2 separate regions of the Homo sapiens genome follow, and region 1 is linked to region 2. The links are contacts of gene promoters, found by promoter capture Hi-C in blood cells and fetal thymus (Javierre and others, 2016). All regions are on one chromosome and are shown on one strand. Each heading gives the region's core, a stretch centred on a gene start or on the middle of the fragment in contact. The rest is flanking DNA. Distances are from core to core; before and after follow the strand shown. Region 1 holds the start of SNHG8 (small nucleolar RNA host gene 8). Region 2 holds the start of FAM241A (family with sequence similarity 241 member A).

The links. Contacts are between HindIII fragments. The CHiCAGO score rates a contact against its expected background, and 5 or more counts as called.
Region 1: the fragment with the promoter of SNHG8 here is called in contact with the fragment with the promoter of FAM241A in region 2 in 1 of 17 cell types (naive CD8 T cells); the score reaches 5.1 in naive CD8 T cells.

Annotation. Positions count from the first base shown.
Region 1 is chr4:118,274,802-118,281,246 of GRCh38, forward strand. SNHG8 (small nucleolar RNA host gene 8) reads left to right here and starts at 3,961. Exons shown (of 3, transcript NR_034011.1): 1 at 3,961-3,991; 2 at 4,588-4,630; 3 at 4,823-5,022. It overlaps SNORA24 (small nucleolar RNA, H/ACA box 24), which reads left to right and starts at 4,389; the gene lies at 4,389-4,519. It overlaps PRSS12 (serine protease 12), which reads right to left. Exons shown (of 13, transcript NM_003619.4): 13 at 5,237-6,445. RefSeq lists an enhancer at 3,489-3,668 and a silencer at 3,739-3,788. The HindIII fragment of the contact is 13,799 bases long and covers 1-6,445 here.
Region 2 is chr4:112,141,018-112,147,703 of GRCh38, forward strand. FAM241A (family with sequence similarity 241 member A) reads left to right here and starts at 4,437. Exons shown (of 2, transcript NM_152400.3): 1 at 4,437-4,716. The coding sequence starts at 4,564. RefSeq lists a silencer at 4,218-4,867 and an enhancer at 5,208-5,347. The HindIII fragment of the contact is 3,530 bases long and covers 1,767-5,296 here.

The DNA of each region.
Region 1 (6,445 bases), core at 2,711-5,210, 6.1 Mb after region 2:
TTAAATTCTATTTTGTTTACTCTTTCTAGCCACAGCATCTATGACAGGACCTGGGATATAGTAGAAACTCACTATTTAGTCATGAGAATTTTTTTTAATGTACAGTACAAAGAATAAGTATTAAGGATGGCAAAAATGAGATGAGACCAATATTTTCTAATGTTCTAAAAGAAAGATTACTATAAAAAATAATAAGAACTGAGATGCATCTTAAAGGATGGGTAGGAAGAATGGGTAGAATATTCTATTCTATGAAATAGCATGAACAAAAATAGGAATGAGCATGCTAAGTGTAACATACATTGTATGTTGGCCTGGGATGAGGAATTTTACCTGATAATCAGTAGGAAAGTCATTACACTTTCTATAACAAGTGCTTAACATGTAGAAAATATTTCCAGAAATTTAATCTTTCATTAATATACTTAGTTGATTGGAAGAGAGAATTAGAAATGTAGGGAGACAGCTCAGACATATTATCTTAGATTAGCAGTGTGATATGGTTTGGATTTGGATTCGTGTCCCTGCCCAGTGTCGAACTGTAATCCCCAGTGTTGGAGGAGAGGCCTGGTGGGAGGTGATTGGATCATTGATTTGCCCTTGGTGTTCTTGTGATAGTGAGTTTTCACGAGATCTGGTTATTTAAAAGTGTGTTGCACCTCCCTCTGCTCTCTCTTCCTCCTTCTCTGCCCATGTAGGATGTGCCTGCTTCCCCTTCCGCCATGACTGAATGTTTCCTGAGGCCTCCCCAGCCATGCTTCCTGTACAGACTGTGGAACCATGAGACAATTAAACTTTTCTTTACAGATTACCCAGTCTCAGGTAGTTCATTATAGCAATGTGAGATCAGACTAATACACAATGTAACAATAGAGAAAAGGTAACTATAAAAATAATGTAAACAGTTGTAACTTGGCCACTGTAGAAATCATTAGTGCTATAATAATATATTGAAATACTTCCGATTATCTTCCTTCTAAGCACACAGTAGGATTCCATTTCCCCAGGCTTTTGGAGTTAGGTGTGGCCATGGAACTTGCTTTAGTCCATAAATATGAGTCAAAGTAACATATGTCACATCAGAATGGAATCCTTTAAGAACATAATGACTATTTTCCCTTCTCCCTTTATGTTGCCTAGAACCATTACAAATGGTGAAGGCCTCATTAGCCTGGTCTCTAACATGAACATAAGCATGACAAGAAACAAATCTCTGTTGTTTTAAGCCACAGAGATTTTGGATCTTCTGTAACTGCAACACAACTTCATCCATCCTGACTGTGACACTTTTAGAATTTGTCAACAAAATTTTATACTCCCCTCAAGACGGGCTAATTTCCCTCCCCTTGAATGTGAGCTGGCATTAATAACTAACTTCTAACAAGTGATGGTGTGTAGGCCACAATAAAAAGTGTTGGAGCTTCCTCTCTTGAGTCACTCACTCTGAGGAAAGCCAGCTGCCACGAGAATCATGAGGACAGTCAAGCAGCCCTATGGAGAGATTCACATGCTGAGGAATTGAGGCTTCCTGCCAACAATGAGCATTAACTTGTCAGGTCTGTGAATGAGCCACCTTGAAAGAGAATCCTGCCGCACCAGCCCCAGTCAAGCCTTCAGATGGCTGCAATGCCAGTCAACATCCTGACTGCAACCTCACAAGATACACTGAGCCAGTTAAGCTGCTCTTAGATTCCTGACCAACAAAAACTATTTGAGATAGTAAGTGCTTATTTTTTTTTAAGCTACTAGGCTTTAGGCTAATTTGATATACAGCAATCGATAACTAATACATTGGTTGATACAAAAATATATCAAATACTGAAAATAAAGGATAGGGAAAAATAAGAACTAATTTCTTTGCTTTGAACTTTGAATGATTTGGAAAACATTGTAATGGCACTAACTGTAAGTTACTCAATTATATTCTCAAGTCTTGAGGCAAAGGCCATGTCTGCTCAATAAACATTTGCTGGAGTCTAGTAAATGTTTAACAACTGAACAAGATGTTCAGAACTGACAAGAATATTTTAATATAGATAGGAGGGAACGTCCATCTCCTCTCTTTTGGACACTATGCTTTTTTTTTAACACTAGATCATACTGCAATACACTATACTTTTATTACTGCAGCAAAACCAATTTTTACAGCAGAAGTATCACGCTGCTAGTATACACTGGAAGTTTAGATTTGCTAAGTGTTTTAAGATAGAAATAAGTCCACAGGTTATTTCCTCACTATATTTTCTCCTATTCATCTCAGCATTCATATGACAGATGTGCCATTCTATGTTAAATTTTTCTGATGACTACCAGTTTCAACACTAAACCACAAAAGGAAAAAAGATATAGTGCAGGGAAAAGCATTGTTGAAGAATAAATATTCTATAATGAACTGTTCACTCCATGTATCAAAAGCAGAACTGAAATGTTACCTAGCCATCATTTGATCAGTTCTAACAGGTTCACCTTGCATTCTATCTTTAAAATCCTTAGGCTGGGCGCAGTGGCTTGCACCTGCAATCCTAGCACTTTGGGAGGCCGAGGAAAGAGGATTACTTGAGCCCAGGAGCACAGGAGATCAGCCTGAGGGCAATATAGTGAGGGCTTGTCTTTCAAAAAAAAAAAACCTTAAAAAAAAAGTAGCCAAGTGGTGGCACACGCCTAGCAGGAGGCTCGCTTGAGCCTAGGAGGTGGAGGTTGCACTGAGCCAAGATCATGCCACTGCACTCCAGGCTAGGCAACAGAGCAAGAATGTTTCTAAATAAATAAATACATAAAATAAAATCCTTAAGCCAATCTTCATTTACCAACCAATTTTTAATTCTTTTATTTGTTACCACATTGTCTCTCCTGAATATCCAAAGGCTCAAAGCCTTGGTTTGAATGCAGCTAAATTCATTGGGTTTGATCTCAAGTCAAACTTAGAAATACTGTCATCTCAGCCACAAATTTCACACTAAAGTAGATAGAAACCACTACTAAATCACTACTTTGTCTTAAAATGAAAGTATAATAGACTGTAAGGTTATAATTGCTTTTTTAAGTTAAACTTTGTTTTACATTTACAGAAAATTTGCAAAAATGGAGTCCCCACACCCCCTTCATCCAATTTCCCCTACCATTAATATCTTACAATACCATGGTATATCTGTCACAATAAAGAAATCGGTATTGGCACTATTACCTAAATTCCACACTTTGTTCAGATTCGCTAGTTTTCCATTAATGTCCTTTTTCTGCTGGAGATCCCAGCCAGGATACCACATTACATTTAATCATTATGCATCATTTTCTCTGGCATAATAGTTTCTCAGACTTTTCTTGTTTTTGAGTAGTGATTAGGTAATTTGTAAAATGCTAACCAGCGATCTCAGCTCACCATAACTTCCGCCTCTCGGGCTCAAGAGATTCTCCCACCTCAACCTCCCGAGTAGCCGGGACTACAGGCGTTCACCACCACACCAGGCTAATTTTTGTATTTTTAGTAGAAACGGGGTTTCGCCATGTTAGCCAGGCTGGTCTCCAACTCCTAACCTCAAGTGATCCGCCCGCCTCGGCCTCCCAAAGTGCTGGGATCACAGACGTGAGCCACCGCGTTCGGCCCCTTTTTCTAATATTGTCTAAAATAAGTATCCTAAACAGGAAATACCAAAAAAATCCCCCTCGCTTTCGTGACCTACACCGGTAAGCGTCAGGATCTTTCGCTATGCGAGAACCTTTTGGCTCTCGTATGTGCGCATGCGTCTGGATCCGGAGCCAGGTGACCCGCTCAGACGTGGACCATGTGCGGGGGAGGGGGGAAAGGAGCCGCGAAGGGGGTGGTAGACGGAACAGGTGGAGCCGCGGCGGGGCTAGGCGGGGCGGGGAGTGAAACAGCATAGGCTCCGCCCCTCGCGGCGCTTCCCCCGGAATAGCGTCATCAGTTCTATAAGAGAGCGTGTGCCGAAGGCCTCGGCCTTTCACATTCGGGAAGCGTCGGGATTAGGTGAAAGTACGTAGTTGTCTTTCGTAAGTTAAAATGATAATTGGGCCGAAACTTACTGCCTTACCTAAAAGGCAGCGCAGTCAGGATATTGGTAGGTCGGGGGCGGCTTTGGAAACCCTTAAGTTTACAAGCATGCGCGGACTTGAGTGCTCATTAGGTCGCCGGGCGTCCACGTGCAGCCCTGGACCCTGAACCCCGGCGTGCGTGGGCCGTGGGCCCTCGGGGAAAGGTTCCGTGCACTCGGGGACTCCGGTGAAGCCTGTTCAGCCGTCTGTGTCATGTGGCCATCTTGAGTCTACTCTGTCGCTCTTGTGCCCTAGCACCCCGAGAACCGTCAGTTTGAGCCAGATGGTGAGTAATAACCTGTAGCAGTTTGGTTGCTGGTTAATTCTGGATTGTGAATCTCCATGTATCTTTGGGACCTGTCAGCCGTGGCAGTCTCCCTTCCTAGCCATGGAAGAGCATATCCTTGTTTATTGGCAAAGCTGTCACCATTTAATTGGTATCAGATTCTGACTTGCACAAGTAACATTCACTGTTAAAAACCTAGAGGGTGCCGGGTTATTGGGCAAAATTTCTAAACCGTTGTTCAATGTTTCTAGGAAGCTGAGCTGAACACATTACGATGGATGATGGAAACATAAGGTACATTTCTTTTTTGATATTTCTGAGTTAATCTGAAACGCCTTAGCGGCAGGACGTTGGAAAGCTAAAGTTGGCCCGTTTTGCTGGCTTTTGTAGTTTGAGTTAACAACCAACTGAATTAGCTGATAAGATCTCAAAACAGTGAGGTAAGTACACAGCTCGGAGTTTTATAATGCTTTTTTTCTCTTGCAGACTATCAAGAAATCCAAGTGGTAATGGGCGAAGTTTATTCAGCATCCGGCAATGGACTTATCGTAGTTGGGGAAACGGGTGTTCCGAATAATATCCTGGAAGTTATCAGGACACCTATTTTAAATATAGGCCTGAATTTTGTAAAGTAATATTTAAGGTGGTCCGTGATAATTAAATAAAATGCTTAATTCATGTGGCTACTCATTGTTCCTTGACTGAGTGATTAATAGACGGAAAGGTAGTTAATAGCATAATACCTCCTATTTAGTGTTACACGCTCATGTGGAAGTAGTGTGAGTACAGTTCTAAGGTAATTGCAGCCTTTGTGAAAAATGTAAAATATAAAAATTACCAGGCTACCCCCAAGGGAGACAGCAGACTCTTTTTAAACCATACAAAAATTTAAGGCAGTTATACAAGGTGGAAAATTATGTATTTATTTACACAAATATGCACAGAACACTTGTATCTTTCAAAAGTCACACTTAAGACATAGTAAAAGCATGTTGTATGAACCATGTATTCTTAAGGATTGAGCAAACTGCAGGCTGCTTGCTGCCTTTTAGGTTTGCTAGTCCCTGATCTACTTGAAACAGATGTTGCTTGCCCCAACACTAGTTTAATTATAAGGGCAGCCTGTGAGAAAGTTTCAATAGACATTTTTCTCACCTATATTGCACGTTTTTCTGAAGCCCTTGTGCAAGTGTGTGTGCCATGTGTAGTTCTATTTACATATAAACGCTACTTTAAAAGTTTATCAAAATCATGAGTTTTTACAAAAGTTTTTAATGCTCTTCTGCATTATATGCAGCATTGCAAATCTGCAAAGTAGTAAAACTATAAAGCACCTTTAGGTTTGCACCAGTTATTACAGAAATGGGGATTTGTGAAAAGGATGTAATTTGATGTAGAAGGGCAAAGTCCTTTAATGACTGGCATTCAAGAGGATTACTTAAAACAATTTGTAAGTTCATGCTAACCTCTTCCCTATATTTATACTACTGGGACCTGGGGAAGGATCCATGACATGGAAGTATCTTGAGTGTGCCTTTTAAATTTGAGCATTACTGCTAAGAATGTTCTGTAAAGGTGCATAGTTAAGCAGCTATCCCTTAACTCTTGGAGAAATAGCCATAGGGAAACCAATCATTTAGGTAGGAGAACCATGGGGAAAAAAATCAGCATTTTTTCTGGAGTTTGGAATCAGTTTCACCAACTGGTCTCACTTTGAGGCAAGCCTGTTTTCCCCCATTTGAAAACAAGGGCTACTACCATAAGATTTACTGGCCTTTTGCAAATTGTCAGTGATGTGCAAAGCTGCCTAATGCAGTGCCTGGCATATGTTATAACTGCTGTATGTATTAGAACTTTTCAATGTGTAGGCCAGGAAAGCATTTTGACTAGTATATTTTAAGATTGGATTGTATCAGGTTGGGCTTGGGAAAACCTGCAGGTATAAGTCAGTTACAGGGAAGTGTCAGTGGGTGGCACTCTTACATCATGGTCGGGGAACGTGGACTATGATGAGGTGCTTGTTAAAAGCAAATATAGTAGATATGTTAATGTGTTGGATAAAATAGGTTGTATGTCCAGCTGGCATTTAGTTACCAGAAATCCTTTCAA
Region 2 (6,686 bases), core at 3,187-5,686:
TACTGTAAGGAGAGAACTCAGCAGTGCATCTGAATGCAACAAAATCACACTAGAGAACGTTAATAGAGCAGAGAGGATAAAAATTAATTCCAACCCAGGCATAGTGGCTCACACCTGTAATCCCAGCACTTTGGGAGGCTGAGGCGGGCGGATCACCTGAGGTCAGGAGTTTGAGACCAGCGTGGCCAGCATGGTGAAACCCCGTCTCTACTAAAAACACAAAAATTAGCTGGTGTGGTGGCACACGCCTGTAATCCCAGCTACTCGGGGGTCTGAGGCAGGAGAATCGGTTGAACCCAGGAGGTGGAGTTTGCAGTGATCCGAGATTACACTACTGCACTCCAGCCTGAGTGGCAGAGCAAGACTCTGTCTCAAAAAATAAAACAAAAATTAATTCCAACAGAAAGAGCAAATTTCTCCTTCTCCCAATCAGAATGGACTCTCTGGGAAGGCAAGAGAGCATTAATAGAGCGTTGTTTAAGCTGATACAGCTTCCTTAAACTGAAAGAACACTAAAGGAAGTGAGGCCTCTCCAAGTTTCCTTTCCTTGAAATTTACATCAATTGTGCAAGAACCATAGTTTCCTGGAATTTTGGTTCAGATTCCAAACATCTCAAAAATAATTCCCTGTGCCCTGCTAAATAGAAAGGAAGCAGATGAAAATCATATGAGAAAAATTAAAGCATATAGGAAGCTTAGAATAACATTATAGTGTGTCAAAAATCAAACCAACAAATGTAATTTGGGGTAGTTTCCACAAATAACTGCATTTGTTTTTCTAAGATTGTATTACCAATTGAGTCCAGAACTCTCTGATTTGCTCGTTTCTCCCTCTGGAAAGATGCACAAATGAAATAAGAATAGAGGAACATTAAAAATAATAAAGGCATGAAAGTGAAGGATTAAAAGTCCTTGTTCCCATAGCAACTGCACCAGCCACATTTGCACTAGACAGGCCATTCCTTAGACGTGCATCTGTTTCTTGCACTTATTTATTTCTGGGAAAGCACAAAACACACTAATAAAATCACAACAAAACTCCATATGATTTGACTTTGGGAGGCCAAGGTAGGCGGATCACCTGAGCGCAGGAGTTCGAGACCAGCCTGGCTAACATGGCAAAATCCCATCTTTACAAAGATACAAAAATTAGCCTGGCATGGTGGCACACACCTGCAGTCCCAGCTACTTAGAGAGCTGAGGCAGGGCAGGAGGATCGCCTGAGCCTGGGAGGTGGAGGTTGCAGTAAGCTGTGATCATGCTACTGCACTGCAGCCTGGGTGGAAGAGCGACACTCTGCCAAAACACACACACACACACACACACACACAAACAAAAAAAAAAACCACTACATATGATTTGAGACCAACATGTTATAGTTGCCTAGGTAATAACAATCTTATATTTCCCATGGGAAACTGGCAGTGCTAGCTTTATGTGTATATTTTTCACATTGTGCAGCAGAGTGAAAACAGCCCTCTCCTCCCATAAGATTAGGCTGTAATCTGTTTAATGTCTTTTGTGTAAAATGCTAGATTTATTTAAAGAGGTGGTTCTCCAGATCTCCAGGAAAAATCAGACTCTATGAACAAAAGAATAACAGCTTAAAGAAAAACTCACTCACTAAATTAAAGGTAAATGATATTAAGAAAAAAAAAAAAGGTTCTGCCTTCAGTCCTAGGTGGAGATCCAAGGATTCTGGCTACTCTTCGGTAAAAGTTCTTGGTTTCTGCCAAGAAAATAACACAAGAATTGGATTAAAATGAAGCTTCATGAGAATAGGGACCTAGACCTGGGCCAAACGCCTAGTAGTGTTCAATAAGAGAATAGGGACCTAGACCTGGGCCTAAAGCCTAGTAGCGTTCAATAAATACCTACTAAAAAACTGAATTAATACACTTCTCAAAGACTCAAGAAGCCGGAATCTACAAAAGACCAGACAGTATACTCTAAAGGAATTTTGTAAGACTTGTCCCCTAAGCTGAACAAAGCTAACCTCTGTATTGTACCTGCCCAGCTATATAAATACTCTGTGCCTTCTGAGTCCTCTTATATATAAGGAATTTCTGCTCACTGTAGCCTGATTGAAGAGTGCATAGTTGTTTGGCTTATCAAGTTGCCAATCAAACGCTATGAGGGAGAACTTCAAAATGTGCCTTAGTTCATGGGGTTGGCAGTAAAGAGCTGATGTTCTCTGGGTTGCTGTATATAATTCCAAAGTTTTATCCAAAAAAGTTGATTTTTATTTTTTTATTTTTTTGAGACGGAGTCTTGCTCTGTCACCAGGCTGGAGTGTAGTGGCGTGATCTTGGCTCACTGCAACCTCTGCCTCCCGGGTTCAACTGATTCTCCTGCCTCAGCCTCCCTAGTAGCTGGGACTACAGGCATGTGCCACCACACCCAGCTAGTTTTTGTATTTGTAGTAGAGATGGGGTTTCACCATGTTGGCCAGGATGGTCTCCATCTCTTGACCTTGTGATTCGCCTGCCTCGGCCTCCCAAAGTGCTGGGATTACAGGCGTGAGCCACCACGCCCAGCCAAAAAAAAAAAAAGTTGGTTTTTATAAGAAACACTACTAATAGCCAAACCAAAATTCCAAGAATGAAAATGTTGCCTTCAGGGGAAAAAAAATGAGGCCCATCAGAAAGGCTACTGGGTTCCCATGGTGATATTTGTTTCTGATTGTATGTATATAATATTAAATACTCTTTTCTGGAGTTTTAAAGACTTTTAAGAAAGGGAATGAACCAGATTCATTTTCTTTCTAATTTTTGATATCCAACGGCATATTTTCTGGCCCCTAGAGAGATTGTTTGTGGAGGAGAGACAATCAGAGAGGGCATGTGTGAGAAACCATGTGTGAGAGATGGTGTGTGCGCGAGGTTGTATATGTGTGAGAGAGACTGTATGTATGTGAAATCATGTGTGTATGAGAGAGATTGTGTGTATGAGAGATTGTGGGTGTGTGAGAAAGACTGAGAATCTCCTGACTACAAAAAACAGGAAACTTCTTTAAAATAAGCCTATGAGATTCTGCCTATTTTAATTCCTTCTCTGGGCCTGAAAACATTTTAATAGAAGATCCCAAATAACTCTTACTCTTCTCCATGTGTACACATGTTTACTTTCCATATTTACTTTTCTGTATTTTACCTGTACAATAACCCATCGTTTTCCCAATGTACAGATAAGGCATACACAGAAAAAAAAGTGATATTTTATTTAAACACCCTTCCATTTTCCTTGAATAAAATGGATGGAGTAGTACAAAAAATAATTATCAATTGGATATATTCCCCTCACCACCCACTGAGAAAGACATATTCTTACCCAGTTACAGAAAGATACATCATTTGATACACCATCAAACGACCCAAGGCTCCAACAAACAACACACACTAGGAAGCACTCAACAGAAAGGGACAAATACACAGACCTTCAGTGAGACACTAGGAAAGGAGGCTAAAGGAACAAGAGGGACAGTGAAATGTGTCTTCCTTGAAAAGGACGGGCAGATACTCAGGCAAGAACAGGGGTACTCTGCTGGAGAGTGTAACTGGGTGCATGTGTGTGTTTCTCTCTCACATACAAACCCACACACACTAATCTCTTATACAAATGCGCTCTCTCTTAAATATATGCACTGGCTCTCTCACACAAGTAATTTCTCTTTCACACTTGATCTCTCTCAGTTTCTGTTGTTCCCTCATACAATCTCTCTCTCACAGTCTCTTGCATACACATACAATCTCAATCTCTCTCTCTCTCTCTCTCTCTCTCTCTTTCCCCCCCCCCTCCTCTCTCTCTCTCTCTCTCTCTCTGAAACGGGGTCTGGTTCTGTCGCCCACGCTGGAGTGCAGTGGTGTGATCTCTGCTCACTGCAGCCTCGACTTCCCGCGCTGAGACGATCCTCCCACCTCAGCCTCCTGAGTAGCTGGGACCACACTGCCGCCACCACGCCCGCCTAATTCTATTTTTAGTAGAGATGGGGTTGCCCAGGCTGGTCTCCAACTCCTGGGCTCAAGCTATCTGCCCGCCTCGGCCTCCCAAAGTGCATACAATCTCTTATACGCAGTTTCTTTTATATAGAATCTCTCTCACACACACACACAAATCACGCTCAGCGTCTCTCTCACACTCTCTAACGGTCTCTTACGCACACACAATATCCCTCATACATACACACAGCCTCTCTCATGTACAATCTCCCTCATGCAGTGTATGTCCATAGTTTTTCACACAACACCCTTCTTCTCTCAGTCTGTCGGCCTCTCTCTCAATCTCACACACACACCCCCGCCCCCCAACACACCGTTGGCCCCGCCCCCTGTCTTGGCCCCTCCCCTGTACGGCTCCGCCCCGACGGCCGGGGGTTGGGCGAGCCAGTGACAGGAGGGGCCGGGCTGGTACTTCAGGCGCCCAGGCCGGCGGGGCGCGCTCCGGCGGCTCCTGTCAGCGGCGGGTGCGGCGGATCCCAGGGCAGCCTTCGGGCGGCGGCGCTGCCTGGTGCGTCGCGGCGTGGTCCTCCGGCGGCTGTCCGGGGCGGTAGGAGTTGGCTGCGGGATGTGCTCAGCCGGGGAGCTGCTGCGGGGCGGCGACGGCGGGGAACGCGACGAGGACGGGGACGCGCTGGCGGAGCGGGAGGCGGCAGGGACCGGGTGGGATCCCGGGGCGAGCCCGCGGCGGCGCGGACAGCGGCCGAAGGAGAGCGAGCAGGTGAGCGCGGGGAGGGGCGGCGGCGAAGCGGCCGGGTCGGGGGCCGCGAGCCCCGCCCGGCGTTGGAGGGAAGGGGCCCGGCCCGCGGGCCGCGCCGCAGCTCTGCCCCGCGTGGGCACTGGCTCCCCGGCGCTCTGGGAAGTCGTCGCCGGGAGCGGTTAGACGGCGCTCCCAGGAGGAGCGGCGGGGTCGCGCGAGTGCAGACGCCAGCGCCGGCCCCGGGGTCGCGTGTCTGGCGGGGTCAGCGTGGTTCGTCCCCTGGCGTCCGGCAGAGGATTCTCAGGCTGGCGCCCAGGGCTCGGAGGAAATGCCCTCCATAGCGGTGATTTATTTAAAAGCCTCACTTGTAAACACTTCTTTTTCAACTTCGAGTCCGTGCCCTGCGCCAGGTTTAGGAGACGCCGGCTCCCCTCCCGCCCTCCATCTTGCGTTTCCGAGCCCACACCTAGCGTGTCTGGAAGGTGTGGGTGGATTCCGTCCACGGGCAGCGCTGAAAGCATGAGTAGGAGCGGGTGTTACAATGAATGTCTTGACAGGGACTCTCCCAGAGCACGTTCTTCATAAATACAGATGAGATCAAAGCTTCAGTTAAAAAGTGGAGAGGCAAGAATATTGCTTTCGGTTATAAGAGGCCAGCCATAGTAAGGGAAAAGAGAAGTTGCGTAATTTTTTAAACTCTCTGAGTTTATCTCATTTAAATAAAGTGTGATAATGGGCATTATAACATCAAATATCTTAAAGATTAGGCAAAAGGTTTAATTTTAAAAATTGAATTGTATGTTGGATGAATTTTCTACAGCAAATACAGTATTTAGACTTTCCAAATACCTGAGGTAAGCCGCTCTTTAGACTCACATTAAGGAGCAGGAATTCAAATGATTATTGGCCTTTATTACAGCCTGTACTGTTAGGACAATTAATACCTGTCTCTCCTCATCTTTCTTCATCTGTCCTTTCTGTCACGTTTCACAAATTCCAGTATCATCACTAAATGCATTAATAGATGTATACCTTACATTGTTTCAATAGGTTACTTAGGAAACAGAGTAATACTGTGTGGCACACAAAATATGCCTTAGCGTTAGGTTTGATCACCACGTGGAGTGTAATTTTTCATCTGTGACAATATAAGAGAAAGTGACTCAAGCAAATAATTTGGTAGCTTGTTCTTCGGATTCCCTTCCTAGTGGTTTTTCCCGTTAACTATTCATTTGCTCAAGGGCTTGATTTCCTCTAACTTAAATTGCTTAACTGGAAAAGTGAAGAAGACAGCACAAGAATTCCTTTGGGGGTGGGGAGGGGTTGCATTTGAGCAGGGGTTTCCAAAGTAAATTTTCAAATAGTTGTAAGGGAGCATATAAAAATACTTCATTTAAGCTTCTGTGTACTTCATTAGTATGATTATGTAGACATCACTAATAGTTGTGGTCTTTCCAAAATTGCTTATGGTACAAAGTAAAAGGATAAAACAAAAAATGAAAAGTACATCTTAGAAAACATATCACTTTGCATACCTGCCTCCTTCATTGAATGTCATGAAAGTTCATTCTCCTGTACTCCTTTGAAGTGTTATTTTTATCATTCTGTTTTTGCCTCAAGATTTATTAATGTATTCTAAGCCCCCATACACAATAATTGAAAATCACACCGGAGATAGGCATTTCCTACTACATTAGCACCAAAGAAGAATTAGTCAAGAAGACAAAAATAAGCAAAAAATTGGTGCAACCCAACCCATTGTTGTAAAAAGCAAGCTTTTCTGATAAAACGTTTCTTGGTAATGTTATCACAAAGCCTTGTTTTCTAGTTTTTTTCAAGTTCTGTAAATGAAATTATGCATTGCCATGTAATGATGGTAGAAATAGTATTACATGTGTAAAGATATTTGAGGAAGAAATGAAATTAACAACTATGGAACATATCCCAAGGACTCATTTTATTTAGTTTTTATTTAGGGAGATGATTTTTGT